Linked DNA regions of Homo sapiens: all the other regions are linked to region 1. Evidence: promoter capture Hi-C in 16 types of primary human blood cells and fetal thymus (Javierre and others, 2016). All regions are on one chromosome and are shown on one strand. The core of a region is centred on a gene start or on the middle of the fragment in contact, and the rest is flanking DNA. Distances in the headings are between cores, read along the strand shown.

The links. The method cuts DNA at HindIII sites, captures the fragments that hold promoters and counts their contacts. A CHiCAGO score of 5 or more calls a contact.
Region 2: a fragment that was not itself captured here is called in contact with the fragment with the promoter of RASGEF1B in region 1 in 2 of 17 cell types (naive B cells and M2 macrophages); the score reaches 7.6 in naive B cells.
Region 3: a contact is called between a fragment that was not itself captured here and the fragment with the promoter of RASGEF1B in region 1, in 1 of 17 cell types (total B cells). The highest score is 5.9, in total B cells.
Region 4: a contact is called between a fragment that was not itself captured here and the fragment with the promoter of RASGEF1B in region 1, in 7 of 17 cell types (neutrophils, naive B cells, naive CD4 T cells and 4 more). The highest score is 10.3, in neutrophils.
Region 5: a contact is called between a fragment that was not itself captured here and the fragment with the promoter of RASGEF1B in region 1, in 1 of 17 cell types (total B cells). The highest score is 5.8, in total B cells.
Region 6: a contact is called between a fragment that was not itself captured here and the fragment with the promoter of RASGEF1B in region 1, in 1 of 17 cell types (erythroblasts). The highest score is 6.5, in erythroblasts.
Region 7: a contact is called between a fragment that was not itself captured here and the fragment with the promoter of RASGEF1B in region 1, in 8 of 17 cell types (endothelial precursors, total CD4 T cells, monocytes and 5 more). The highest score is 6.8, in endothelial precursors.

The regions. Positions count from the first base shown.
Region 1 is chr4:81,469,943-81,473,879 of GRCh38, reverse strand. RASGEF1B (RasGEF domain family member 1B) reads left to right here and starts at 1,973. Exons shown (of 14, transcript NM_152545.3): 1 at 1,973-2,110. RefSeq lists a silencer at 1,632-2,041. The HindIII fragment of the contact is 14,883 bases long and covers 1-3,937 here.
Region 2 is chr4:82,364,914-82,368,850 of GRCh38, reverse strand. The region is part of intron 2 of HNRNPD (heterogeneous nuclear ribonucleoprotein D); the gene reads left to right. Among named protein-coding and RNA genes, the nearest start is that of HNRNPD, 7.1 kb to the left of the region's middle. RefSeq lists an enhancer at 2,310-2,981. The HindIII fragment of the contact is 2,515 bases long and covers 789-3,303 here.
Region 3 is chr4:82,341,260-82,345,196 of GRCh38, reverse strand. No RefSeq gene overlaps it. Among named protein-coding and RNA genes, the nearest start is that of HNRNPD, 31 kb to the left of the region's middle. The HindIII fragment of the contact is 1,120 bases long and covers 1,749-2,868 here.
Region 4 is chr4:82,291,574-82,295,510 of GRCh38, reverse strand. It overlaps the pseudogene VAMP9P. Among named protein-coding and RNA genes, the nearest start is that of HNRNPD, 80 kb to the left of the region's middle. RefSeq lists a silencer at 1,898-2,098. The HindIII fragment of the contact is 4,339 bases long and covers 1-3,937 here.
Region 5 is chr4:82,270,475-82,274,411 of GRCh38, reverse strand. The region is part of intron 1 of LOC105377308 (a long non-coding RNA gene); the gene reads left to right. Among named protein-coding and RNA genes, the nearest start is that of HNRNPD, 100 kb to the left of the region's middle. The HindIII fragment of the contact is 217 bases long and covers 1,854-2,070 here.
Region 6 is chr4:82,249,920-82,253,856 of GRCh38, reverse strand. All of the region lies in intron 1 of LOC105377308 (a long non-coding RNA gene), which reads left to right. Among named protein-coding and RNA genes, the nearest start is that of HNRNPD, 120 kb to the left of the region's middle. The HindIII fragment of the contact is 8,771 bases long and covers 1-3,937 here.
Region 7 is chr4:82,233,148-82,237,084 of GRCh38, reverse strand. No RefSeq gene overlaps it. Among named protein-coding and RNA genes, the nearest start is that of HNRNPD, 140 kb to the left of the region's middle. The HindIII fragment of the contact is 2,899 bases long and covers 863-3,761 here.

The DNA of each region.
Region 1 (3,937 bases), core at 724-3,223:
GCCAGACCACTTGGCTCCCTGGCTTCAGCAACCCTTTCTAGGAGAGTGAACGGTTCTGTCTCGCTGGTGTTCCAGGCGCCACTGGGGTATGGAAAAAAAAAGAACTCCTGTAGCTAGTTCGGTGTCTGCCCAAATGGCCACCCAGTTTTGTGCTTGAAACCCAGGGCCCTGGTGGGGTAGGCACTGGAAGGAATCTCCTGGTTTGTGGGTTGCGAAAACTGGCACAAGCACAGTATCTGTGCTGGAGTTCCTCAGGCTCAGTCCCTCATGGTTTCCCTTGGGTAGAGGAGAAAATTCCCCAACCCCTTGCACTTCTCGGGTGAGGCGATGCCCCACCGTGCTTCAGCTCACTCCCCGTGGGCTGCACCCACTGTCCAACCAGTCCCAGTGAGATGAACTGGGTACCTCAGTTGGAAATGCAGAAGTCACATGCTTTCTGTGTGAATCTCGCTACGAGCTGCAGACTGGAGCTGTTCCTATTCAGCCATCTTGCCAGCAATCCCCTGCAACTCTTAATTTCTGGCTACAGGATCAGTAATGTCAAGGGTGTAAGTGACTGGCCCAATGTCATATGGCTCGTTTGTTACAGAATCGGGATGCAAAAACTGAGCTTGAAAAATCAACCAACCAGTACAACCACAACAGCAGGGCAGGGCCACCCAGCCTCTGTGTTTCACTCTGCATGGCTGGCCCACCAAGTTCCCTTGGCCTTATGGCTTCTCATTTAAACTGCAGAGAAGCTATGGTTAAGTCAAAGGCTCAAGTAGGTTAGAGTGAATTACTGAATCAGAGGAGTCCTATTTACACAAAGGAGGGAAGGAGTATCATAAAGAGGAAGAAAAGTAAAAGGAGGCATAAATGAAGAAAATGAAAGAGGAATCCGCTAAGAATAGACAAAGTGAGCGTCAAAATGACTCCACCCCAGGAAGGAGAGGGGGAGGGACCCATGGAGCAGGAGGGAAAAGGATTCCTCCCCCTCAGTAATCTTAATTATAACAGTATAGGACAGGTATGAATAGTGTTGTTTTATATATGAGAAAACTGAAGCTCAGAAAAGCTGTATCACTTACTCAAGGAAATACAGTTGGTAAGAGTCTCCTAATTCTGTAAATTTTTTCTTTTCATAGGTCTCTTTCTTCCCTTGTTTCCATCATTATTTCCCTCTGGCCTCCTTTTATGTGTACAAAGTGAAGTACGGAGGTTTTTACCTTTTTTCTGAAATAGTTATCAAATATCCCATGATGGAGTGAGTACGTGGTTACCATGACAACACAGCCCTCACTGAGGACTAGCCTCCCTGCTTTGCCTCCGGAATCATGTTTCACGGAACAGGTTCCTCTCCGTGCAACTTCTAGCAGCTGTAATTCTACATTTTGTTTGGGTGATTATTTGCTGAATGTCTGTCCTCCACTAGACTATGTAAGTTTCACAATGGCAGAGACCAGCCTACTTTGCCAAGTGTGCCCCCAGCGTTTTGCACAGTGCTTAGCACCAGGATCTATGTGTTATTTGCTAAGCAAATGTTCTGTGGTTCCTCTCCGCTCTCTTCTGAAAGTTACATGGACAGTAACCTTTAGCTCACAATTATGTTAATAAATACTGTGTAACGAGTCGGGCCGGTATTTACAGATAGTATACACGTGAATGAACACACACACACTCACGACTGCACAACAGCCCGGGGCAGGTGCACTCAAGAGGAAACGCGCACAGTCGGAGCCAGCCTGACCAACGCTGTTAAACACCGCTGCGCTGGGCTCCGCGGGCCTCTGCCGCGTGGGAGGGCACCCAGGCTGACGCGCTGCGGGAGTCTGGGGCCCACTGGGACTTGCCTGCCGGGCCGGGTGGCGGCGGCGTGGGCGGTGAGCTGCGCGGTGATTGGCCCGCGCCTGCCGGGGCGGGGCGGGGCTGGCAGCGGGAGGCAGGCGCCTGAGCCAAGGGGGGCGTGCGCGGCGGCGGCTGCCGTAGTTTCAGTATAAACAAGGAACCCGACTGGTTAGACAGATTTTGTTTTTCTTCTTCCCGCGCGCTTTAGCTCCCTGTCCTTTGGTCGCATTTGTGGGCGCGCGGCACGCAGCCGGGAGGCCGAGGACTCGGAGTTCACCTGCAGGTAGGTTGTTCCCTGGCTGGGTTGTTCTCCCGGCTGGGGGACCACAGCCCGGAGCGGGAACTCCGGACCCTACTGCGCGCTGCGCTCTCCCTGGAGATCCCTGGGCCGCGCGGGGAGCGAGCGGGGCTCAGAGACTTCACCGGCTGCCGGGTGCGCTCCGAGGCGGCGGGAGATCCCGAGGCGAGTGAGCGCGAACGCGGGCGCCAAGAGCCGAGTTACAGCCCGGGACCGGGGGAGGGCCCCTGCCCGGCCGCTGCGGGTACCTGGGACTGCCGCGGCCCCAACAGGTGCGAGGCCGAGCCGCTGGGACCCGGGCAGGGCCAGGCTTGGGTTGGGTTGGGTTGTGCCTTCCCTCTTTCTCCCTGATCCTGCAGCCAGGCCTTCTGTCTCGAGATAGGTGGTTTTTGAGGATTTGTCTTGAGTTGTAATCGCGTCCATCATTTTTTTCATCCCTTCTTTCCTTCGTGTGCATACCTAGGTTGATTCTTCCACTTCTTGACCAGTTTTGTGTGCGTGTGTGTGTAGGGGGAGCTGTTTATTTTTGTTGTCAGTGCCATGTAATCTAAAGTCTGACTCGTAGGAAGGGACAAGGGAACAGAAGTCACATACTCGCCACCGACAAGGTGATGTGCTGTCATCCTTCGGTGTTCACCTGGCAAACTTGGGAGACACTGAGTCGCCTTGCTTTTGCCAGAGCTCAGTTGAGTCGCCTCGGGTCACCTGCCTGGGGAATCTCAGATGAGCTAGAGGTATCTAGGAGCCTCGCGGGCAGTCAGCTTAAGGGAGGTTCTTTCTAAGGGAGCTGTGAAAACAACTTAAGTGCTGCACCAGGGAAAAGGGCGAGACGGGGGCTGGGGTGCGCGCGCCTTTGTGTGTGTGTATGGACGTACCATTTCAATACTGCTTGCTGTCTTGCCCCAACCAAATCGGCGCAGTTCAGGCAAAAGCAACGTAGCTTAATCCTCTGACACTGCCGAGGGTGGCACAAGTGTGGCAGATAACACAAGGAGATTGTCTAGACGGCGATTTTCTCTTCGGAATGTAGATGTGTCCATCCTCCCTGATGAATTCGGTGGATATGGTGTATATAGATGAATATGCACACAAATTTGTGTATGTGTTTGGGCCGAACGCGTCTCCAAGGAGTCCTTCGTCAGCACCATGTGACGACGGTCAGGAACTGCTGGTGTGTGTAGATCTATATTTAGCTCAGATGGTCTAATGGCCGAAGGGAGGGTCTCTGAACTGGGTGCATAAAGGGGAAGAGTCTAGGGATCAGGGTGGTGCACTCTTGAATGATGTCTGGCACAGTCACACTCAGATGGGGTGAATAATTGCCCTTTCCTCGTGAAAACAGTAGCTAGAGCTTGGCATGTGATGGCTATGCCTTAATTTAAAACATAGTTGGACCATGGCGATAAGCCTCTGCTAAGAAACAAGGAGGTTTACAGTTAAGCAGCGTATATACCTGGTTGGCCGTTTGGGTGAAAATAACTGGTCCCATGAGATTTAGAACAAATATAGAGTTGCTTTCTTTAATAAAAAGAAATAAAAATTATTTGCTGTTGAGGTTTTCATAACAGAAAAAAAGAAGGCAGCTTGTTAAACCCTATCATTAAAGGTAATTTTATTTTTTTAAGTGAGGGGCAGTGGTGGAGCTAGAGAGGAGGACCTTAGGGCACTTTTGACAGATATCAGGGTTTACAAACAGCGTTATATTATGCCTCTCAAGCAGATTTTCTGGTGAAGATGAGATCAGCCACTGATTAACAAGTTTCTTGTTGGCATTCTTCCACTGCATGTCGGGTCAATCCTTTGTTTTCTTGG
Region 2 (3,937 bases), core at 797-3,296, 890 kb before region 1:
TAGGCTCATGTTTTTGCTTTAAATGTTTGAGATTATGGTCTTATACCTTAGTGCTTCTGGGGCAATCTGAACATTGTTTGCTTTGTAAAATAATTTCTTTTAGAGTAGTCTCATGCCAAATTTACTGGCCTTTGATTCAGTACAGTTGGGTTTACTGTATGTAGTAAAGTTGAGACCCTGCGTAGATTGGTCTCAGTGTTAGCATTCTTGGGAGCCTTTGACAAATTTCCCGAGTTAAAAATTCCAGAAATTGATGTCCCCAGATCTTTAGATGAACATTTAAGCGAAGAGTATTAAATACTTCTCACTGTAAATTTTCATCTATTATGAAAGATACTAAAAATAATCTCGTTTTTTAAGTTTGGAATTGGGAGAATGTCATTGAAGTTTTTCAGTGCTTGTTTTTGAGATACACATACTTTGCCTTAAATCTGGGGTTTTTTCCCTTAAGCCATGTGACCCTTTCTACAAACTCAGTGTATGTTTTTAATATTTCCTGGGTACTCTGCTATCGTCCTAATACATAATATTAGGGTAAGGCTGCCCTAATACGAGAACATTTTGAGTATACTATTGAGTATACATTTGAGTATACATATTGAGTATACTATTTATGCCAACGTGAAGGATGTGATTAGTTTTAGCCTTCAAGTCATAATACATACCATGCTTGAAAGCATTTAAAAAGGAATAGAGTAATTTTTTTTCCCATTCCACTTGGAAGCTGTGTACCTCAAGTGTGTGCACATTTACAAATGGGTGAAACATAACTTATGTTAGTCCAAGCTTGATTTGACTTCAGTTCTGCTTCAACGTTTTAGTAGATAGGGCACTGAACTGGATGCTGAAAGCGTGGGATCTCTTTCTGTTGCTTCACTTCCAACAGTGTGGTTTCAGGTAATACGACATGTTTGTTACTTGGTTTGCTGATCTATGTGTTGGAAACAATGCTCACCACAGGAGGATTGACTACATAGCCTGCTTTCATAGCTTGTGTGTATTTATCCAGTGCCCTAATAGTTGATACTGCCAGTGATTTACTCCTGTGGAGTAAAGGTAAGCATGTTTTAGTTTCTGGAGTATTATATTGTACGTTGGAGCTAGGTATTTAAGAATATTTGGGGGTGGGGAGGGAAGACTCCAATTTACTGGTGGTGCTTGGCCAGTAATCAAGGTGACAGTTTAAGTATTGGGTCTTGCACTGTAAACTCCTGCTTATCTAGACTTCAGACTACCACAGAGCCCACACAGCCAGGAAGTCTGTCTCCCCATTTAGTCTTATGAGCAAGATAGATGAAGCCATGAGAAAATATACTCAAAAAGCAACCAACAGACAATGTCATGGAATGAATCTCCTACAGATTTTTCCTTACACTTTTGAAAAGTAACATGATTTTAAAACGTTGGAAAATTCATCAAGGTACAAATCATTTTCTGACTTCAGCATTGATACCTAAATTGATTTCCAGTACACAGTTTTATAGAATTGTGAATATGTAGTAATCTCAGTTAACCAGAACCTTAACCTTCAGGTTAAGGAAAATACCTATTCCTTAACCTCTAGGTAAATGGGAGTTTACCTTACAAAGCTGATTGAGAGCTTATTTAAAACGTAAACATACAAGATGTCATTGCTTCCTTGTAGTGAAGTGAAAAGGAGGTATTGGATTAAGCATTTAAAGTTAATTAAAGTAGTGGCTCGTGCCTGTAATCACTGGCTACTCAGAAGTCTTGAGGTATGAGGATCATTTCATGCCAGGATTTCTAGACCAGCTAGGCAACATAATATGACCCCTGTTTCTTTAAAAAAAAAAAAAAAAAAAAGGCTAGTGTGTTGGGGGGTGTGTTTGTAGTTGTAGTTACATCTACTCAGGAGGCAGAGGCAGGAGAATGTGTTGAGCCCAGGAAGGAGCTCAGGGCTGCAGGAAGCTATGATGGAGCCACTGCATTTTGATAGTGAGACCTGGTCTCTTAAAGTGTTTTATTTTTAGGCCAGGCGTAGTGGCTCACACCTGTAATCTCAGCACTTTGGGAGGCCAAGATGGGTGGATCACCTAAGGTCAGGAATTGGAGACCAGCCTGGCCAACATGGCGAAACCCCAGCTCTACTAAAAATACAAAAATTAGCCAGGTGTGGTTACATGCGCCTGTAGTCACTCAGGAGGCTGAGGCGGGAGAATCACTTGAACCCTGGAGGCGGAGGTTGCAGTGAGACAAGGTTGCACCACTGCATTCCAGCTTGGGCAACAGAGCAAGACTCCGTCTCAAAAAAAGAAAAAAAAAGTTTATTTAAAAAACTGTCATGTTGGCCGGGCGCGGTGGCTTATGCCTGTCATCCCAGCACTTTGGGAGGCTGACGCAAGCGAATCACCTGAGGTCAGGAGTTCGAGACCAACCTGGCCAACATGTTGAAACCCTGTCTCTACTAAAAATACAGAAATTAGCCGGGCATGATGGTGGGCATCTGTAGTCCCATCTACTTGGGAGGCTGAGGCAGGAGAAGAGCTTGAACCCGGGAAGCAGAGGTTGCAGTGAGCCAAGATCGCGCCACCGCACTCCAGCCTGGGCGACAAAGCGAGACTCTGTCCCCCTCCCAAAAAAACTGTCATGTTTCATTTATTAGATGTTTATTTTTTCAACTTCGCTTTTTAGTAGTCATTTAGTTAGGTTCATTCTAAAGTGTGAAGTAATGAGATTTAATACAGAGAAGTCTCTGAAAATGTTTGGTCCATTGTATATTAGTCTTGAATAAATGGAATTCTTTTTCACACTTACCTTGAAAATGTCATCTGTAGAAAGCTGGGGGAGAGGAATACCTATTCTTTAATGATGGGGAAATAATACCAAAATTTATATTTTTATTGACTAAAGTGTTTTTTGGGGAAGATTTGTTATTGGCTAACCTTAATGTCTCATTAGTTTTAAATAGTTAAAAAAAGTGGGCTGGGTGCGGTGGCTCACGCTTGTAATATAGCACTTTGGGAGGCTGAGGTGGGCAGATTGAACCCAGGAGTTCCAGACCAGCCTGGGCAACATGATGAGATCCTGTCTCTACAAAAAAAAAAAAAAAAAAAAAAAATTAGCTGGGCCTCGTGGTGTGCACCCATAGTCTCAGCTACCCAGGAGCTTGAGATGGGAAGATTGCTTGAACTTGGGAGGCAGAGGTTGAAGTGAGCCAGGATCACACCATTGCACCACAGCCTGGCAATAGAGCGAGACTCTGTCTCAAAAAAGTGGTTTTCATGAATTTTATACCAGATCAGATCTAAAAAGGCTGGTTAGTATTTGAACTCGATGAAAGCTTGTCAAGCTCTCTCCCAAGGTAGTTTTCATACAACTTGTAAAATACCCTAACGTGTGATATTATCTAGTTGCATTGTAACCTCCTCCCTTCCCCTTAGGTAACTAGTGACTTAGCTTTAGTTTGTCATTTTAGGATTTTAGAAGAATAATTATGATGGATAAAATACTGGAAAAATTCAGTAAGGATTTAATGGTGTGCTTGAGTAACATTACTTTAAAAGATGACAGTGATTGGTCATTTATGTTTTATACCTGAAATGTATATCAGGTTGACATTCTGTTGTATTTTTTAAACTGTCAGAACTTGTTATAAAGCCATGTATGTAAGATCATAAGTTGTTAGGAAGTGTTTAAAAGTTAAAGGATTGGCTGGGTGTGGTGGCTCATGCCTGTAATCCTAGCACTTTGGGAGGCTGATCGCTATGTCCAGGAGTTCTGTGACTAGCCTGGGTAACAGAGCAAGATCTCGTCTCTAAAAAAGTAAAAATAATACGAAGTTATAGAACATAGAAAAAGAATACTATTCCAAAATTGGGAGTGAGTATAATGGCTAACTTTTTACCTTGAATAAGGTGTTTGACAATAAAGACTTATTAGGGGAGGTATCTTGGAATAAAATAGTTAATATTGACTG
Region 3 (3,937 bases), core at 1,059-3,558, 870 kb before region 1:
TATAAAGCATGCTACTGCTAATCAATTAGTTTTATGTATTAAGACCTATCAGCATGTCTTTTTTTTAGTATCTGGTTGACTTAAACATGATGTTCTCTGTACCATTTAACATTTTCAAGACATATTCTCCCCAAGCAAATTCTGTTGGAACCAAGTGTTTCCAGTTCTAGAAGTTTACTTCTAGAGTCTTCATATGAAATTTACAGTTGGGCTTTCATAGGGTTTTAATTTGCACTGAATCCTTCCTTCTGAAAGATGACTTATGTTTAAAGTATAATGTAGCAGTGCTTTTGTCTTACAATTAAACTCTTACAGCACTCATGCATTTTTTGCACTGTCTGTTTTTTTTGACTTAAGCTTTTTTCTCTTGAATGAATACCTTTAACATAGAACTTATTAGTTGAAAAGGTAAGGCAACTACTGGAATGTTAACACATCACATAAAATTTTTAAATGATGGGATTGTTTGGAAAGTTAGCTTATGCTAAGGAGCAATTTCCAGCTTTCTTCGGAATGTTTATGAGGCAGGGTATTGAGGGCAGGAAGATTTTTTGGGGATGTTCAATCTTTGTAATCTGCTGGGCTTGCTATCAAATGTGAGACCACTACAAGTGCTGGTAGGCATTTACCATTTTATGTTACAACATTTTTGGAAAATGGTAAATTGAATTTGATGGCTAAGAGCAATAATGTTAGCAAAAGTACTCATTATAAATGCACTATTATTTCACTATTCCACTTTTACTTTTATGTCTCAAGAACTGTTAAAGGAATGCGGGTCACTTAGTGCTGGTCTGTTAAGAGAGAAGTCACCATTATGTTGGGTCATGATGTGGTGCTAAGCAGGTCTGCTCCTCAACAAACGACCTCTTTGTCTGTAACCAGCTTGTGATTTGCCTTTTTGTTCTAAAAAATCGGAGGCCGGCCGGGCACGGTGGCTCACGCCTGTAATCCCAGCACTTTGGGAGGCTGAGGTGGGTGGATCACCTGAGGTCAGGAGTTCTAGACCAGCCTGGCCAACATGGTGAAACCCCATCTCAACTGAAAAAAAAAAAAAAAAAAAAAAAAATTAGCTGGGCGTGGTGGCAGGTGCCGGTAATCCCAGTTACTTGGGGGGCCAAGGCAGGAGAATCACTTGAACCCGGGAGGCGGAGGTTGCAGTGAGCCAAAATCGCGCCATCGCACTCCAGCCTGAGGGAAAAGAGTGAGACTTCGTAAAAATAAATACATAAATAAATCAGAGGCCAGAATTTAATGGTTTTTGTTATTCTAGGTTCTGCCATGATTCTGTGAGATTCTCTGAGAGGCCTTGATCCTATAGTGGGATAATATAAACTTTCAAAACAACTTAAAATAATCCTTTTTAGACTTATTAAAATATGTGGGGCATTCTATTTAGCAGATTTTTAAAAGTTTCTAGTTTAATACATTCAGTGGAATAGATTATTTCAAATGAATGCTTTTGTGGCCCAGCTCTGTCATTTGCCCAGTGATATTGGGTAAATTAACCATCTCCAAGCCTCAGTTTTTCCAAGTGTAAAATTATATTACCTTTCTTAGGAATGGACATTAAATGATAGTCATGTAAAAGTGCTTGAGGTTAGCAGTTCTCGGCCTCATTGTGAGGTTAAACAAACATTTTGAGGCCCCATCCCAGGCTTATGCAGAATCCTCAGGGGTGGAGCCGAGGAACATGTATTATTAAGATCATTAGGTGACTCTGATGCTGAGAATTGAAAACCAAAGCTTCACATTTGTTGATATTAACCATGTTTAAGAGCTATGGAAATCATGCATCTGAAAATACCAAATGTTAATACTTACATGTGCTGGGCATACTGAATACAAAGAGGAGTGTGATGTGGCCAGGCTCGGGAGTAGAGACAGCCATCAACCATGATAGAAGGAGTACCCTTTCTCGAAGTTTGCCTCGGCACCCTCAGGGAACTCCCTACTTTTGCTTCTGCAGCTCTTCTGGACTTCCTTGGCTGATGAACCTTCAGGAGATTTGACACAGAAGCCCTATGATTTTGGTGACTAATTAGGAAAGAGAAGATGAGCAGAAGGGAGGAGTCAAGGTAGGCTAAGAGTTTGTAGATTACAGGATAGCTGTGATCCCATTTATTGAGATTGGAAATCAAGTCAAATAAGCAGGTTTTGTGGGGGAATGGAAGAATGTATAGTTTGGGGATCTAAACTTAAGTGTTTGCGTGGTATCCAAGTGGGTATATCTAGTAGAGAATTGGGAAATGATTTGGAATTCAGAAGAGGGGTTAGATCTGGAGAGAGCAACAGCATGGGAGTGAATAAGAGCACGTTGCAGAGTGGGAAATGAAGAGAACCCAAGACAGAGTTCTGCTGCAGGCCACTTGAATGACTGAAAGATAACATAATTGAACACCACCAATGCATAGTCCACCTTGTGCACCCCCACAGCAAGCTGTTCCTCTTACTAGTGCAGTAGACTTGGGCATTTATGCTTCTGTTTTCTCATGTGTAAAATGGAAATAACAGTAGTGCCTACATCAGGGTTGTGAGAATTAAAGAAGGATTTCTAAAGTACTTACAACAGTTACTGGAACACAAGTGCTCAATAAGTTAATTGTTATTGTTAACTGCACTGCCTTTACCTATTGATATAAATTCGATTTATGACACTTCATGGTAGAAATAAATTCGATTTCTAATAAGATCCAATTCCTATCCCACTTACAACCAATGGAATCTTCCTCAGTGATTTGAGCCTGTGTTGATCATCATCTCTTAACTTATTCTCTGCCATGCAATGTACCACTTAAATATTGATGCTGTTGCTTTAACCTGTTTATGATATTTGTTGGACTTCTTCCTTCAACTGGAATGTAAGCTTTCCTAAAGGATTAGAGATAGGCCTTAGGGTTTTTTATTTTTATTTTTTGAGATGGAGTCTCACTCTGTTGCCCAGGCTGGAGTGTAGTGGCGCAATCTCAGCTCACTGCAACCTCCGCCTCCCAGGTTCAAGTAATTCTTCCTGCCTCAGCCTCCCGAGTAGCTGGGAATACAGGTGTCTGCCACCACGCCCAGCTAATTTTTATTTTGTATTTTCAGTAGAGACAGGGTTTTCCATGTTGGCCAGGCTGGTCTTGAACTCCTGACCTCAGGTGATCTGCCTGCCTCGGCCTCCCAAAGTGCTGGGATTACAGGTGTGAGCCACTGAGCCTGACCAGGTCTTACATGTCTATATACAAACATCATTCTATTTTTTCAAACATCAGTTATTTCTATCTATGTAGTAGCTTAGGATAAACCATAATGTTTTAGAATTGTTTTGGTGCAGAGTAGGAGCTCAATACTATTTGAAAGCATAAATAGATGAAAAATCCAAGATCACTTAATATTTGTTTCTGCCAAGCTATGTTCTGACAGTTCTAGCATAAATACCAGGGAAACAATCCTTACTAGGCAGCATTCGACAGCCCATAAAAATATAAATTATCTTGAAAACTCTTAAACTCTAAAGACTGCCTTAGAAAACAAGTATTATGTAGGACTTCTTGCTTGGAACCAGGGTGATAGCCTGTGCTTTAAGCATGCTACCAGTGAAGAGAAAATCTCAAAGACACATAATTCACTTAGACTTTTGGTCTTGATATCCTAACATGTAAAGTGCAAGAGGTTAGATTAGGTGATCTTTAAGTTCACAGTTCTCTAGCAATAATTATGCTACTAACTGGTGATCAGGATACAAATATGTTTTATACATAATTTTACTTTACAGAGATGTTAAGGGGCAAGTTTTATAGGGCTTCGAAAATAACAGCAGCAAAATACATGACTATTCCTCTTCCAACTACTCTTGTCTCTACCCTGCCAAAACAACCTACTAAACTGACAAGAAGTGAAATAATACGATGTATCTTGTCTGACCCATAATTAAGGGATCTTAATTATTACTCTA
Region 4 (3,937 bases), core at 810-3,309, 820 kb before region 1:
GATTGCTTGAGCCCAGGAGTTGAAGATTGGCCTGGGCAACATAGCAAGACCCCATTTCTACAAAAAATACAAAAAAATTAGCTGGGCATGGTGGTGCACGCCACACTGTATTTCCAGCTACCTGGGGGGCTAAGGTGGGAGGATTGATTGAGCCAGGAGGTTGAGACTGCAGCGAGCCATGATCACGCCACTGTACTCCAGCCTGGGCGACAGAGTGAGACCCTGTCTCAAACAAAAATAAAAAAACCAAAAACAAAGAAGCATAATAATTAGAAGACCTCTCATATATTTGAAAAATTGAAGTAAATTATGTTAAGTGAAATCTGTAGAATTTAAATATGTATTTAAAATTGCATCAATAAAAATAAATCAAAGAGAAAACTAATAATTTGGTATATATATATATTTTATTTTTTGAGATGGAGTCTCACTCTGTCGCCCAGGCTGGAGTGCAGTGGTGCAATCTTGGCTCACTGCAACCCCTGCCTCCCGGGTTCAAGCAATTCTCCTACCTCAGCCTCCCGAGTAGCTGGGATTACAGGCATGTGCCACCATGCCTAGATAATTTTTGTATTTTTAGTAGAGACAGGGTTTCACTATGTTGGCCAGGCTGGTCTCGAACTCCTGGCCTCAAGTGATCTGCCTCCCATGGCCTCCCAAAGTGCTGGGATTACAGGTGTGAGCCACCACGCCTGGCCTATATATATATCTATATTTGAAGTCACTCACATTCTAAGACTGAATCAAGATTCTGACTAAATAGAAAATGCTATGTTTGGCTGGATGCGGTGGCTCATACCTGTAATCCCAGAACTTTGGGAGGCTGAGGCGGGTGCATCACGAGGTCAGGAGTTCAAGACCAGCCTGGCCAACATAGTGAAACCCTGTTTCTACTAAAAATACAAAAAATTAGCCAGGTGTGGTGGCGGGCACCTGCAATCCCAGCTACTCGGGAGGCTGAGGCAGAAGAATCGCTTGAACCCAGGAAGTGGAGGTTGCAGTGAGCCAAGATTGCGCCATTGCACTCCTGCCCAGGCGAAAGTGTGGGACTCTGCCTGTAAAACAAAAACAAACACAGAAAATACTATGTTCATTGAATTTTAGTATGTCTATATTTTAGGTAGACATATTTAATTTTGGTACATCTTGGTTTTCTATACATTAGAATTAAAAATTTGTAAACTGCAAATACCAAATATTCAGGATGAGTTGGGGAGGGAGGAATGAATGTTAAAGTGAACCACAGTATGTTAAAATGAACCTTAGCATGACCACTCAACCATCTAGACCTTTCTGCCTTCTCAGAGTCCCACAGTAGGGGCTAGAATCCCCTTGGAAAGTGCCTCCATCCTTTACTGCCCAACAATCCAGAAAATGCAGGAATATGCAACAAAAATAGTTGCTTGGTGCCTAGACTTTAGTCTTTGTGAATACTATCTCTAAATGGTTAACAGGCAACAGACATGGTCAAATGCTAAATTGAATATATATGAGAATGAGGAAACTCAGAAACAGGAAGAAAAGATAATTTCAGAGGCAGAAAATTTAACATATGAACCCTTTCAGTGTAAATCCTTCACATCATATCATGAATACAATATGCTACAAATGTTTTTAATGATTATATTGATTTATACACATAATCTCCACCTAGAAAACATTTTTATTTAAAAATTTGGTGGAGTCCGCTGAAAAAGAGTTGCTAATTGTACCATCTATCTGAAAGTTACACATGTAATTTGAAGTAAATTGATACTGCATGTGAAAAAGAGATATTTTAAATTTATGCTTAGTATGTTATTAATACTATGAGTAATATTCAGAAAGCATCTATAATCTTAAAAACAACTTGAATATCTGATGTTCAGGAGATATCATTAATTGACAAAAGCCAGGTGGAGAAAAGTGTGCATGATGTGCTATCATTTATCTATCACATCATACGCTACCATAAGGGAAGTTCAAATGTACATACAGTAGTCTCTTATTTGTGGCTTCACTTTCTGTGGTTTCTGTTACTCATGGTCAACCGCAGTCCAAAAATAGGTGAGTAAAATGCAATGAGATGTTTTTGTGAGAGAGAGAAAGAAAGATGACATTTACATAACTTTTGTTACAGAATATTGTTATAATTGCTCTATTTTATTATTATTGTTGTTAATTTCTTATTGTACCTAATTTATACATTAAATGTTATCATATATGTATAAAAACACACAGTATATTTTATAGGGTTTGGTACCATCTGTGGTTTCAGGTATCCACAAGACTGGGGGTCTTGGAATGTATCCCCCTCAGATAAGGGAGGGCTACTGTATGTACTCTATATTGTGTTCTTTTTTTTGAGACAGGGTCTGGCTCTCTCACCCAGGCTGGAGTGCAATGGTGTAATCTCTGCTCACTGCAACCTCCACCTCCCGAGCTTAAGCCATCCTCCCACCTCAGCCTCCCAAGTAGCTGGGACTGCAGGTGTGCACCATTATACCCGGCTAATGTATTCTTATAGAATGTATTTCTTATAGGAAAAAAGAAAAGAAAAAAAGATAAACCAAAAACTTGTTCAAAATGGTTACCTACATAGGGGGAAAGAGTAGTAAGGAGAGGAACAGAATGCAAATTAGACTTCTCGAAGGAACTGTTTTGTAGATTTGACTTTGGTACTGCATATATATTTTGCATAATAAAAATGTTATTAATGAAACTTTTAAAAAAAGTAACCATTAGGTCCGGGCACGGTGGGTCACGCCTGTAATCCCAGCACTTTGGGAGGCCGAGGTGGGCGGATCACAGGGTCAAGAGATCGAGACCATCCTGGCAAACATGGTGAAACCATGTCTACTAAAAATACAAAAATTGCTGGGCATGGTGGCGCGCACCTGTAATCCCAGCTACTTGGGAGGCTGAGGCAGGAGAATCGCTTGAACTTGGGAGGTAGAGGTTGCAGTGAGCCAAGATTGCACCACTGCACTCCAGCCTGGCGACAGAGCGAGACTCCGTTTAAAAAACAAAGAAAAAAGTAACCATTAGAAATCAGAAACAAAATGAGAAAGATGGCTTTGTATTGAGTGATCAAGGCAGGAGATGATGGTGGCTTGGTTACTATTTGGAGAGGACAGGCAATGGGATTTGCCCATGGATTGGATTTCAATATAAAAGAGACAAGAGTCAAGAATACTATAGGTTTTAGGCCTGAGGAACTAGAAAAGTGATATGTGGAAGACTTCTGGAAGAGGCTTAGCTTTGGATATGTTTGAGATACTTTAATTAGACATTCAAGCAGAGTGGAACAAGTGGGTATACGAGTCTGGAGTTCAGAAAAAAAGGTCTTCAAAAGATTCAAATTAGAATGTAGAACACAGGTAAGCAAACAGCAAATAAGGAAAGTATCTCTTTTTAAAATCATTTCAGCTAATTTTGTCTGTGAATACAAAACTAGATTATTACCATTTTGCAATCCCTTATAAATTAGTGGCTCTTGGGCCTAGCAATGAGTATCGATAGCTGCTAACATCTCAAAAGGAGATATAATCAGATACCATGTACCATCTGATGCAAAAACACTCGTACTATAGTCCTGCTGAAGGGGTTGAGCCTCTGGGTTGGCTACTTGGTAAATGGTGACCTGAATTTTGAGTATGCAATCAGCAAACCTACACTGTGGGAAACTCTGTCAGTTCTTCAACAATAAACTGCAAGGGAAAAAGAAAAAAAGAAATGGAGGGGGAATAAGTGTATTTAAAGAGATTTAAAAGACATCAAATTAAAAAATGGGCAGGATTGGGCTCCCATCTGAGGATGTGTATTTGGGTGCTGATGCAATGAAGAAACAGGGAAATGACTACTATGGAAGCTGGGATGGTGTCTGATTTTGCTGGGATGGTGTTTGATTTTGCAGGGATGGTGTTTGATTTTGCAGAGATGGAGGAAGCGGTGAATG
Region 5 (3,937 bases), core at 713-3,212, 800 kb before region 1:
ATGTCTATTAGGTCCACTTGGTCCAGAGCTGAGTTCAAGTCCTGAATACCCTTGTTAATTTTCTGTCTTGTTGATCTGTCTAATGTTGACAGTGGGATGTTAACGTCTCCCATTATTATTGTGTGGGAGTCTAAGTCTCTTTGTAGGTCTCTAAGAACTTGCTTTATGAATCTGGGTGCTCTTGTACTGGGTGCATATATATTTAGGATAGTTAGCTATTCTTGCTGCATTGATTCCTTTACCATTATGTAATGCCCTTCTTTGTCTCTTTGATCTTTGTTGGTTTAAAGTCTGTTTTATCAGAGACTGGGATTGCAACCCTTGCTTTTTTTTTTGCTTTCCATTTGCTTGGTAAATATTCCTCCATCCCTTTATTTTGAGCCTATGTGTGTCTTTGCATGTGAGCTGGGTCTTCTGAATATAGCACACTGATGGGTCTTGACTCTTTATCCAACTTGCCAGTCTGTGTCTTTTAATTGGGACATTTAGCCTGTTTACACTTAAGGTTAATATTGTTATGTGTGAATTTGATCCTGTCATTATGATGCTAACTGGTTGTTTTGCCCATTAATTGATGCAGTTTCTTCATAGTGTCGATGTTCTTTACAATTTGATATGTTTTTGCAGTGGTTGCTACCAGTTGTTCCTTTCCATGTTTAGTGCTTCCTTCAGGAGCTCTTGTAAGGCAGGCCTGGTGGTGACAAAATCTCTCAGCATTTGCTTGTCTGTAAAGGATTTTATTTCTCCTTCGCTTATGAAGCTTAGTTTGGCTGAATATGAAATTCTGGGTTGAAAATTTTTTCCTTTAAGAATGTTGAATATTGGCCCCCACTCTATTCTGGCTTGTAGGGTTTCTGCAGAGATCTGCTATTAGTCTGATGAGCTTCCCTGTGTGGGTAACTCTACCTTTCTCTCTGGCTGCCCTTACCATTTTTTCCTTCATTTCAACCTTGGTGAATCAGGCAATTATGTGTCTTGGGGTTGCTCTTCTCAAGGAGTATTTTAGTGGTGTTCTCTGTATTTCCTGAATTTGAATGTTGGCTTGTCTTGCTAGGTTGGGGAAGTTCTCCTGGATAATATCCTGCAGAGTGTTTTCCAACTTGGTTCCATTCTCCTCGTCACCTTCAGGTACACCAGTCAAACATAGATTTGATGTTTTCACGTAGTCTTATATTTCTTGGAGGCTGTGTTCGTTCCTTTTTATTCTTTTTTCTCGAATCTTGTCTTCTCTCTTTATTTCATTAAGTTGATCTTCAATCTCTGATATCCTTTCTTTTGTTTGATTGATTCAGCTATTGAAACGTGTGTATGTTTCACGAAGTTGTCGTGCTGTGTTTTTTAGCTCCCTCAGGTCATTTGTGTTCTTCTCTACACTGGTTATTCTAGTTAGCCATTTGTCTAACCTTTTTTCAAGGTTCTTAGCTTCCTTGCATTGGGTTAGAACATGCTCCTTCAGCTCAGAGGAGTTTGTTATTACCCACCTTCTGAAAACTACTTCTGTCAATTTGTCAAACTCATTCTCTGTCCAGTTTTGTTCCCTTGCTGGCGAGGAGATGTGATCCTTTGGAGGAGAAGAGGCGTTCTGGTTTTTGGAATTTTCAGCCTTTTGCACTGGTTTCTGCCCATCTTTGTGGATTTATCTACCTTTGGTCTTTGATGTTGGTGACCTTTGGATGGAGTCTTTGAGTGGACATGCTATTTCTTTCTGTTTGTTAGTTTTCCTTCTGACAGGCCCCCTGCTGCCCATCTGCTGGAGTTTGCTGGAGGTCCACTCCCAAACCTGTTTGCCTGGGTATCAACAGCGGAGGCTGCAGAACAGCAAATTTTGCCGCATGATCTTTCCTCTGGAAGCTTTGTTCCAGAGGGGCACCTGTCAGATGCCAGCCAGTGCTCTCCTGTGTGAGGTGTCTGTCGGCCCCTACTGGGAGGTGTCCCCCAGTCAGGATACATGGGGGTCAGGGACGTACTTGAGGAGGCAGTCTGACCCTTAGCAGAGCTTGAACGCTCTGCTGAGAGGTCCGCTGCTCTCTTCAGAGCCATCAGGCAGGGACGTTTAAGTCTGCTGAAGCTTTGCCCACAGCTGCCCCTTTCCCCAGGTGCTCTGTCCCCAGGGAGATGGGGGTTTTATCTATAAGTCCCTGACTGGGTCTGCTGCCTTTTTTTCAGAGATGCCCTGCTCAGAGAAGGGAAATCTGGCAGTCTGGCCACAGCAGCCTTGCTGAGCTGCTGTGGGCTCCACCCAGTTTGAACTTCCCAGCAGCTTTGTTTACACTGTGAGTGTAAAACCACCTACTCAAGCCTCAGCAATGGCAGGCACCCCTCCCCTCACCAAGCTGGAACATCCCAGGTTGATCTCAGACTGCTGCTGTGCTAGCGGCGAGAATTTCAAGCCCGTGGATCTTAGTTTGCTGGGCTCCGTGGGAGTGGGGCCTGTTTAGCCAGATCACTTGGCTCCCTGGCTTCAGCACCCCTTTCCAGTGGAGTCAGCGGTTCTGTCTTTCTAGCATTCCAGGTAACACTGGGGTATGGAAAAAAAGAACTCCTGTAGCTAGTTCGGTGTCTGCCCAAATGGCCACCCAGTTTTGTGCTTGAAACCCAGGGCCCTCGTGGGGTGGGCACCGGAGGGAATCTCCTGGTTTGCAGGTTGTGAAAACAGTGGGACAAGCATAGTATCTGTGCCGGCGTTCCTCAGGCTCAGTCCCTCACGGCTTCCTTTAGGTGGGGGAGAAAATTCCCCGATCCCTTGCACTTCCCGGGTGAGGCGATGCCCCACTGTGCTTTGGCTCACCCTCTGTGGGCTGCACCCACTGTCCAACCAGTCCCAATGAGATGAACCAGGTACCTCAGTTGGAAATGCAGAAATCACCTGCCTTCTGTGTTGATCTCACTGGGAGCTGCAGACCGGAGCTGTTCCTATTTGGCCATCTTGCCACAGAATCCTACTGCCAACTATTTTATAAGACTTACTGAATATCCTTTCCCCACTCATTTTTTTTTTTTGAGGGATGGGGTCTCACTCTTATCACCCAGGCTGCAGTGCAGTGGGGTTATCATCACTCACTACAGCCTCGAACTCCTGGCTCCATCCTTCCATCTCAGCCTCCCAACTAGCTGAAATTATAGGCATGAACCACTGCATCTGGCTTCCACAGTAATTTGAAATGCCACTTTTACCGTAGGTTAAAGTCCCATATATATATATGACTTTATATATATATATGACTTTATATATATTGTATATTGTTCTATATATATATATTGTTCATTGGACTTTAGGGTTGATTTCTGTGCTCATTTCTGTGCTAATATCACAATGATTCGGTAATTGTAGCTTAAATGACTTTACATTTAACAATTTGGAGATAATTAATATATTTACAATATTCAGTCATTGAGTCTTCCCATCTAGAAACATGAGTTGTCTTTCTGTTTATTCTACTGACTTCCTATGATCTTTTTCATAAAGGCTTGACAAATTTTTGTTACATTTATTCTGGGATATTTTGGCTGTTCTTGTTAATGGAATTTGTTCTCCATAAGGTTTTCAAACTGGCTAATTTTGGCATGTAGAAAATCTATTAGCTATATTTAATTATTTGCATATAGTCCGTGCTCCATTATATTTTAATTTCCTTAAGGCCAGCGGCTTCCCATAGAGCTCAAAGAGCTTTGCTCAGCATGAACATGACATAGGATACTATTGCTGACTGTCATATTAGTCTTTTCCACTATGCTTAGCAACCAGTGGAGGAAACCTCAGGTAACAGTATTTGTGGAAACTGGATAATGATTCAAGGTAGCGTAGTAAGAAGACACTGAAGGGACTTTGGCATCAAGCATACCTGGATTTGAATCCTTACTTTGCATCTCTGAACTACACTTTGTTCCTTAGGCTCATCTCTGTGCCTAATTCATAAAATGAGCTAAGGCATATAAA
Region 6 (3,937 bases), core at 383-2,882, 780 kb before region 1:
TTTTAGGCTTGGTGCAGTGGCTCACACTTGTAATCCCAGCCCTTTGGGAGGCTGAGGTGGGCAAATTGCTTGAGCCCAGGAGTTTGAGATCAGCCTGGGCAACATGGTGAAACCCCATCTCCACTAAAAACACAAAAATTATCCAGGTGTGATGTTATGTGTCTGTAATCCCAGCAACTCGGGAGGCTGAGATGAGGGGATTGCTTAAGCCTGGGAGGTCGAGGCTGCAGTGAGCTGTGATCATGCCACTGCACTTCAGCCTGGGTGGCAGTGAGACTCTGTCTAAAAACATTTATTTTTCTAAATTTAAAAAATAATGATAGGGGAGCTAAGTGTCAGGGACTGTTAGGGACTAAGTAGTACCATCATAGGTTCCAGAGTACTTGCTTGTCATGGACTCAGATACATGTCTATGTAGAACTGAGGAATCAGAAAGTTGAATTAGGCGGAGCAGAGAATGGAAGATACATGGGCTTTAGTGTCAGTCTTGGGTTTCTATGCTAGTTCTGTTGTTTACTAGTTATATGGTTTTGAGTATATTACCTGAAATCACTTAGTATCTTTTTTAGGCTATAACATGAGATTAACATAATAATAACATGTACCTCAAAGTAAAATTGTGAGGAATTAATAAGAGAATTTATGTAGAGGGTCTGGCAAGTGGCAGATGCTCAGTAGATGTTAGTTTCCTTTTCACATGTGTGTCCATACCCAAATAGCTTGTATGTAGAGCTTTACTTCTGCAAACTTCTATAAGGTGATACAGCAAATGAACAAAGACACCAGGTACCTTAATAAATTACAAAAAAAGCTAATCATTAGGGCAATTCTAGTTGGGGTGGAGGGAGGTTATACATTCACCTGAAACTCTTGCCAAAATCAAAGATGGACTTTCTTCTTTCAGCCAGTGATCTTTCAACATTTTTGCTTGCATGCTCTCTTCAAGCATTTTGAAAAAAACAAACACAAAAATAGCTATGTATTCCACATACATTTTAGAGTTGACATCTAAAATTAATCATCATAAGTTTAAATAGTTGCAAAGGATGTAATTTCTGGCATATATAAATATTGCCATTTGAAAATAAAACTATTGTTTATCTATCATAGATTAGAATATTTAAAGCAAGAAGCAAGAAGCACACTGGGAAATACCAATTTACAAGGTGGACCATTCTGAATTTTTACAGTTCTTAGTGAGAAACAGCTTGGTGAGGACTTGCTTTCCCAGCATCTCATTCTGTGTCCTGGGTGCTCCTTTAGGTTTATTTCAAGGAAGAGAAGGTGAAAGTTTACATATTTATTCCTGACAGTTCAACGCTGCATCTTTGAATAAAAGCTGGGGTTGGCAAACTTTTTTATTTTTATTTTTTTGAAGAGGAGTCTCGCTTTTGTCACCCAGGCTACAGTGCAATGGCACGATCTTGGCTCACTGCAACCTCTGCCTGTCGGGTTCAAGCAATTCTCCTGCCTCAGCCTCCCGAGTAGCTGGGATTACAGGCGCCTGCCACCACACCTGGCTATTTTTTTTGTATTTTTAGTAGAGACGGGGTTTCACCATGTTGGCCAGGCTGGTCTCGAACTCCTGACCTCAGATGATCCACCTGCCTCTGCCTTCCAGACTGTTGGGATTACAGGTGTAAGCCACCGCACCTGGCCGGCAAACTTTTTCTTTTCTTTTTTTTTTTCTTTCTTTATTTTATTATTATTATACTTTAAGTTTTAGGGTACATGTGCACAATGTGCAGGTTAGTTACATATGTATACATGTGCCATGCTGGTGTGCTGCACCCATTAACTTGTCATTTAGCATTAGGTATATCTCCTAATGCTATCCCTCCCCACTCCCCCCACCCCACAACAGTCCCTGGAGTGTGATGTTCCCCTTCCTGTGTCCATGTGTTCTCATTGTTCAATTCCCACCTATGAGTGAGAACATGCGGTGTTTGGTTTTTTGTCCTTGCGATAGTTTACCGAGAATGATGATTTCCAATTTCATCCATGTCCCTACAAAGGACATGAACTCATCATTTTTTATGGCTGCATAGTATTCCATGGTGTATATGTGCCACATTTTATTTCTCAAACTTTTTCTTAAAGGACAAAATAGTACATACTTTAGGCTTTGAGGGTCATACAGCCTCTGTTGTAATTACTCAGGTCTCCCATTGCAATGTGAATGCGGCCATAGGCAATACATAAATGAATGAACAGGCCTATGTTCCAATAAACTATGTACTCTTTTAGCAGTCACTCCTCATCTCCCCCATCACACTCATAACCCCTATGTCCCATCCTCTGCCCCCATCCCTAGGCAACCACTTACCTACTTTCTGTCTCTGTGCATTTACCTATGCTGGACTTTTGGAAGCCTAGAGCTCGCTCTGTGATTTTGTAAAAACCCAATTCTCTATATTAAATCTCTTTTTGCTTAAAATGCCTTGAGTGGTTTCTGTTTCTTGTACTGAACCCTAAGTGGTTCAGAGTTAAAGGAGAAAAATGAAGAATTTTCATCTTTTAAAGAAGAGGTTTTTGTTTTTTTTTTTTTTTTCTGAGAAGGAGTCTTGCTCTGTCGCCCAGGCTGGAGTGCAGTGGCATGATCTTGGCTCACTGCAACCTCTGCTTCCTGGGTTGAAGTGATTCTCCTGCCTCATCCTCCTGAGTAGCTGGGATTACAGGCATGTGCCACCACTCCCAGCTATTTTTTTTTTTTTAATGGAGTCTCGCTCTGTTGCCCAGACTGGGGTGTACTGGTGTGATCTTGGCTCACTGCAACCTCCACCTCCCAGGTTCAAGCTATTCTCCTGCCTCAGCCTCCTGAGTAGCTGGGATTACAAGCACGCACCACCACGCCCGGCTTAGTTTTGTATTTTTAGTAGAGACAGAGTTTCACCATGTTGATCAGGCTGGTCATGAACACTTGACCTTGTGATCCACCCGCCTCGACCTCCCAAAGTGCTGGGATTACAGGCGTGAGCCACTATGCCTGGCCTAATTTTTGTATTTTTAGTAGAGATTGGGTTTCACCATGTTGGCCAGGCTGGTCTTGAATTCCTAGCTTCAAGTGATCCGCCCTCCTCGGCCTCCCAAAGTGCTGGGATTACAGGCGTGAGCCACTGCGCCTGGCCAAGAGCTTGTTTTTTAATGAGTGATAATGAGTCTCAAATTGCTATATTTAGATTCGATTGTACACATGTTAAGACACCAATACAGCACGCCAAAAATTATCCTTTTAAACTAATTATAATAAAAATTTAGATGTTTCACTTAAAACTATGCAGAAGAGCACTAAAGTCCTAATGGCAAGCTCACTAGTTTTGCAAATTTCTTAGAGGTGAAATGCAAGTGCAGGAGTCTGAAGACTTGCTTCAGGCTGCACATGATTATCTCCAGAATGTTCTTGGAACCTAAGCCTTTGACTTTATACTTTCTGGCTTCATTCTTTAAAATATGTCTATTAGCATTACAAGTCATTTTTGTTTGATTCCTTAAATGTCAAAACACCATGTATTTATTATTTAAAACTTTCTAACAATACAGACATGAAGGTTCTACCTTTAACTACACTTTCTAGGGGTCACCGTGATTAACATATTTTATCCTTTGAGATCTTTCTCTGAGACAGGATCTGTAAGGGAAACTTACTCTGTATAGTAGATGACTTCTTGAGGTGTCTCCGAGGATCTAAGATCTACATACAAAATTAGTGTATTTCTTTGAAAGCCTAGCACAGTGCCCTACCTGTGGTACTTAAATGAATCTTTGTTGATACTCTTCTCCAATTTAAATGATTCAGAGCCGTGACAAGGAGTTAAAAAGTAAATCATTTAAGACATGAGTCTGAACTGCACATCTTTATAAGATCCTCTGCACAGCCAGTGCTTTTTTTTTTTTTGTAATTACGTTATTCACCTTTTAAAGAATGTGGATACCTATA
Region 7 (3,937 bases), core at 1,063-3,562, 760 kb before region 1:
ATTTATCAAATACTTTTTCTGCATCTGTTGAGGTAATTGTATAATTCTTTCCATTAATTTTTAATGTGGTAAACTATATTTTCTGATTTTCTAATATTAGACTAAGTTTTCATTCCTGGGGTAAAACCAACTTGTTTGTAATATATTTTCTCTTTTATGCATTGTTCTATTGTTCACCGATATTTTCCTTAGGATATTTGCATCTGTGTCCCTGAGAAATACTGGGCTGTAATTTCTTTTGTCCTTCTGCCCTCGACAAGTTTTTGAATCAAGGTTTTGCTAGACTCGTAATAAAACGAGTTGACTTGTAGATGTATCACTCCAATCTCTGCCTCCATCACCAAGTGACATTTTCTTCCTGTCCGTGTGTCCAAATTTCTCTCTTCTTTTAAAGATACCAGTCACTGTATTAGGGCCCACCGTAACTCAGTATGACCTCATCTCAACATCTGCAAAGACCCTATTTCCAAATAAGGTCACATTCATGGGTATCGGGAGTTAAGACTTGAACATATCTTTTTGGTGGACACAATTCACCCCGTAACATAAATATGTATATTTAAGTCACCTAAGTCTAAAATTAGCCAATGTCTTTACTTTCCTTTAGACAACATAATGATGGTAGAACATTTCACTGCTTTCTGTCTCCTTAACTTATGTGGTATCATTGCTGTTTTTCTTTACCACACAAGTCCTTTTTATTATTGTGTTTATAGTCTGCATTTGTTTAGATTTAAGCATGCATTTGCCACTTTGGTTATCAATCCATTATCTTCTTGTCCACATTATTGCTGTTGCGTAGTCAGCTCACAGTCCAATTGCCATTCCTCTGCCTTTCATTAGGGTGTTTTTTAAAAAAGCTTTACTTTTTCTTTTCTGTTCTACAGTTTCAATATAATTTGTTTAGCTGTGTTTTATATATCTTGTTTGAAATTCATTGGAATTCTCGAATCTGTGGATTGGTATCTTTTTATCAGTTCTGGAAAATTCTTAGCTATTATATCTTCAAATATTGCCTCTACTCTCTCTCCTCTCCCTTAAAAAAACTCTCCTATTAGAGGTTTATTTTTAGTCCCTTTCATTCTTTCTTCCATGACTCAATTTTATTTCATATTTTTCATCTTTTTGACTCTGTTTTCTATTGTGGATAATTTTTTTTCAGATTCATCTTCTAGTTCACTAATTCTTTTGTCAACTATGATACAGTTTTTTCAAATCTACTTGGAGATTTTTATAGTGTGGTGCTCTTATGTTTTCAATGCCTTCATTTATTCTTTATATTATACTATGTTGTATTATACTTATAGCAAGATGCATCAGAGTATTCTAATAGCTGAGGTCTTGCAGATCTGATTCTGCGAACTGCTCTTTCTGCCTCTAGCATATGTTGTTCCTGTATGTGTTCTGTATCTCTTTTGTATGTATTATGAACTCATATTTTTTTGAACTTATCTGTGATCATTCCTTTTAGTTTAGGCTGAAGGTAGCTTACATCATGGAGGATTTGCCCTTGTATCAGGTAACTGCAGGTATCACCAGCCTGGGGCTATTTTAAATTCTGAGTGAAGTTGAATTTTTTAGGTAGGAATTTGGGCTGCTATGAGGGCCAACTTGTAGATACAAAAATTCTCAGGGTTGATATTTAACACCAGGATTGAAATTTCCCTTTTGGAGATCTGGTTTTGTTTTTCTACTCCACATGAATTTTGAGGGTGTAGTTTCTTTGGGGATAGGCAGTTCCTGCTCTGTGTGGGACCATCTTCTATGTGCCTCACTTCTTGGGATGGCTTGTCATTGACTTCTATCCTCTATGGCCTGTGTGTTAGTCCAGTCTCACACTGATATGAAGAATTACTGGAGACCGGGTAATTTATGAAGAAAAGAGGTTTAATTGACTCGCAGTTCCACAGGTTTACAGAAAGCATGACTGGGAGGCCTCAGAAAACTTACAATCATGGCGGAAGGCAAAGGGGAAGAAAGGACCTTCTTCACATGGTGGCAGGAGAGAGACAGAGAACAAGGGGAAAGTGTCACACACTTTTAAACCATCAGATCTTGTGAGAACTCACTCACTATCACAAGAACAGCAAAAGGGAAATCCACCCCCATGATTCAATCACTTCCCACCAGACCCCTCCTCCAATTCGACATGAGATTTGCGTGGGGACAGAAAGCCAAGCCAAATCAGCCTGTGAGGCCTTGAAACTCTCATGGCTCAGCTTCATACAGTTCAGTGAATCCTTCAAGGTGAAAGGCAGCTTCTGTGTTCTTCCTCTCTGGTCACCATTTCCACCAAGTGTTTTTTTCGCTCTGAATATTTATTACTAATTGGAATACTCAGCTTGTCATTTAGAAGACTAAAAATATTTTATTCAGTGTTGTCTATTGTTTACAATGGTAGTGTTAGCCATAGTACTTAGTCATCCATGTTGCTAGAATTGGAAATGCAACACCTTAGTTTAATTGGCTCTTATCTTAATTGCTACATTTAATTGGCTCTTATGTTAAGTGCAGTTGAAAGCTAGCTGACTTACATGCTATTTAGTATTTTTTTAATTTAATTTTTTTATGCCTTGCCCCCTCTGTGTGAAAGTATCTTATAAGTAGGGACTCTGTCTCATAGTTATTTATTTATCTATCCTTTATTTTCTGGAGTGATTTAAAATTTCCTTCTTTTTGTTCTATGAACACCATCAAAAATTCCATTGTGGTGTAATCTACATTGTATCATACAGATTGGATATTACATCCAGAAATTGACACAAAATAATTTCTCAGATAATGTCTTGATATGTACTATGTAAAATATGACCACCATCTTAGATGATTTCTGTGTTTTTGTTTCTAAAGACTGTACACATAAAACAGATCCAAGTGTATAAAAAGTTCGCATGGATGCATAAAGATACGTTTGCAGTTCTACGCTTCAGGTAAGTGGGTTTGTGAGGAAGTCTGGTACATGGACTTGGATGTCAGACTGGCCTATTTGGGTTATGCTTTTTCTGCACTGTACTAACTACATGTACTTGGTAAATGACTTAATTTCTTGACCTTCAGTTTCCTAATTTGCAAGATGGGGACAATCATTCTGATCTTGTGGAGTTGTTTTATTAATAATGTTTGCAAAGAGTCTGTCAGATGGTAGGCACTCCAATTATTATTATAGTTGACTTGACCATTTCCGAGGGCATCTAGCCTAGTAGCAACTTGATTTTTAGGTATCCAAGCCCTACCACTAGGCTCCTAATAGTCACATTCTTAGTTAAGACTATCCATGTACCTCCTGGATTACTCTGCTCCTATCTGTCAGTCCCATAGCAACTACCCATTTTATGGGCCAGCACCCTAAATGGGAGTAGGAAGTCAAGTAGATGTTGCAACAGGTGCAGCCTTGACCCTCATTCTCTAGGCTTCTGTGTCTTGGTGAATGTGGCTGCTTCCAGGTGTTGCATGGTGAATATTACTATGGCAGAAAATCCCTTGTTCCTTTTTAGTTAATCAACGGAAGAATATTCTTTGAATTTCTTATTAAGACCAAGCCATTCAATATTACTTCTAGTCACTGGTGAAATTTATTTAAGAAGATAGGGAGACTTTGCCAGAGGGTGACCTTCATGAGTTTGTCTTTTGCTTTCTCAACACAGACTCAAGGAGAAGTCCTGAGAATAGCCTGGAAGCCTAAGGCTGTAGAACTTATTGTCGTTCCTCAGGCCACTTACACCTTAACCAAATATGAAGAAAATTGAAATTCAAAATAAGCTTTGATGAAGTCACCATTTTTCCTCATTTACTTCTACATTTGATGTGTATAGTCAATAGTGTTTGATAATATTCATATGACTACTTCATGTATTATTACCACTTATTCATTTAAAATCTAATTTATCTATAGGGCAAGGGTTTACTTGTGAAAACTCTGATTCTAGAAACCATTAGA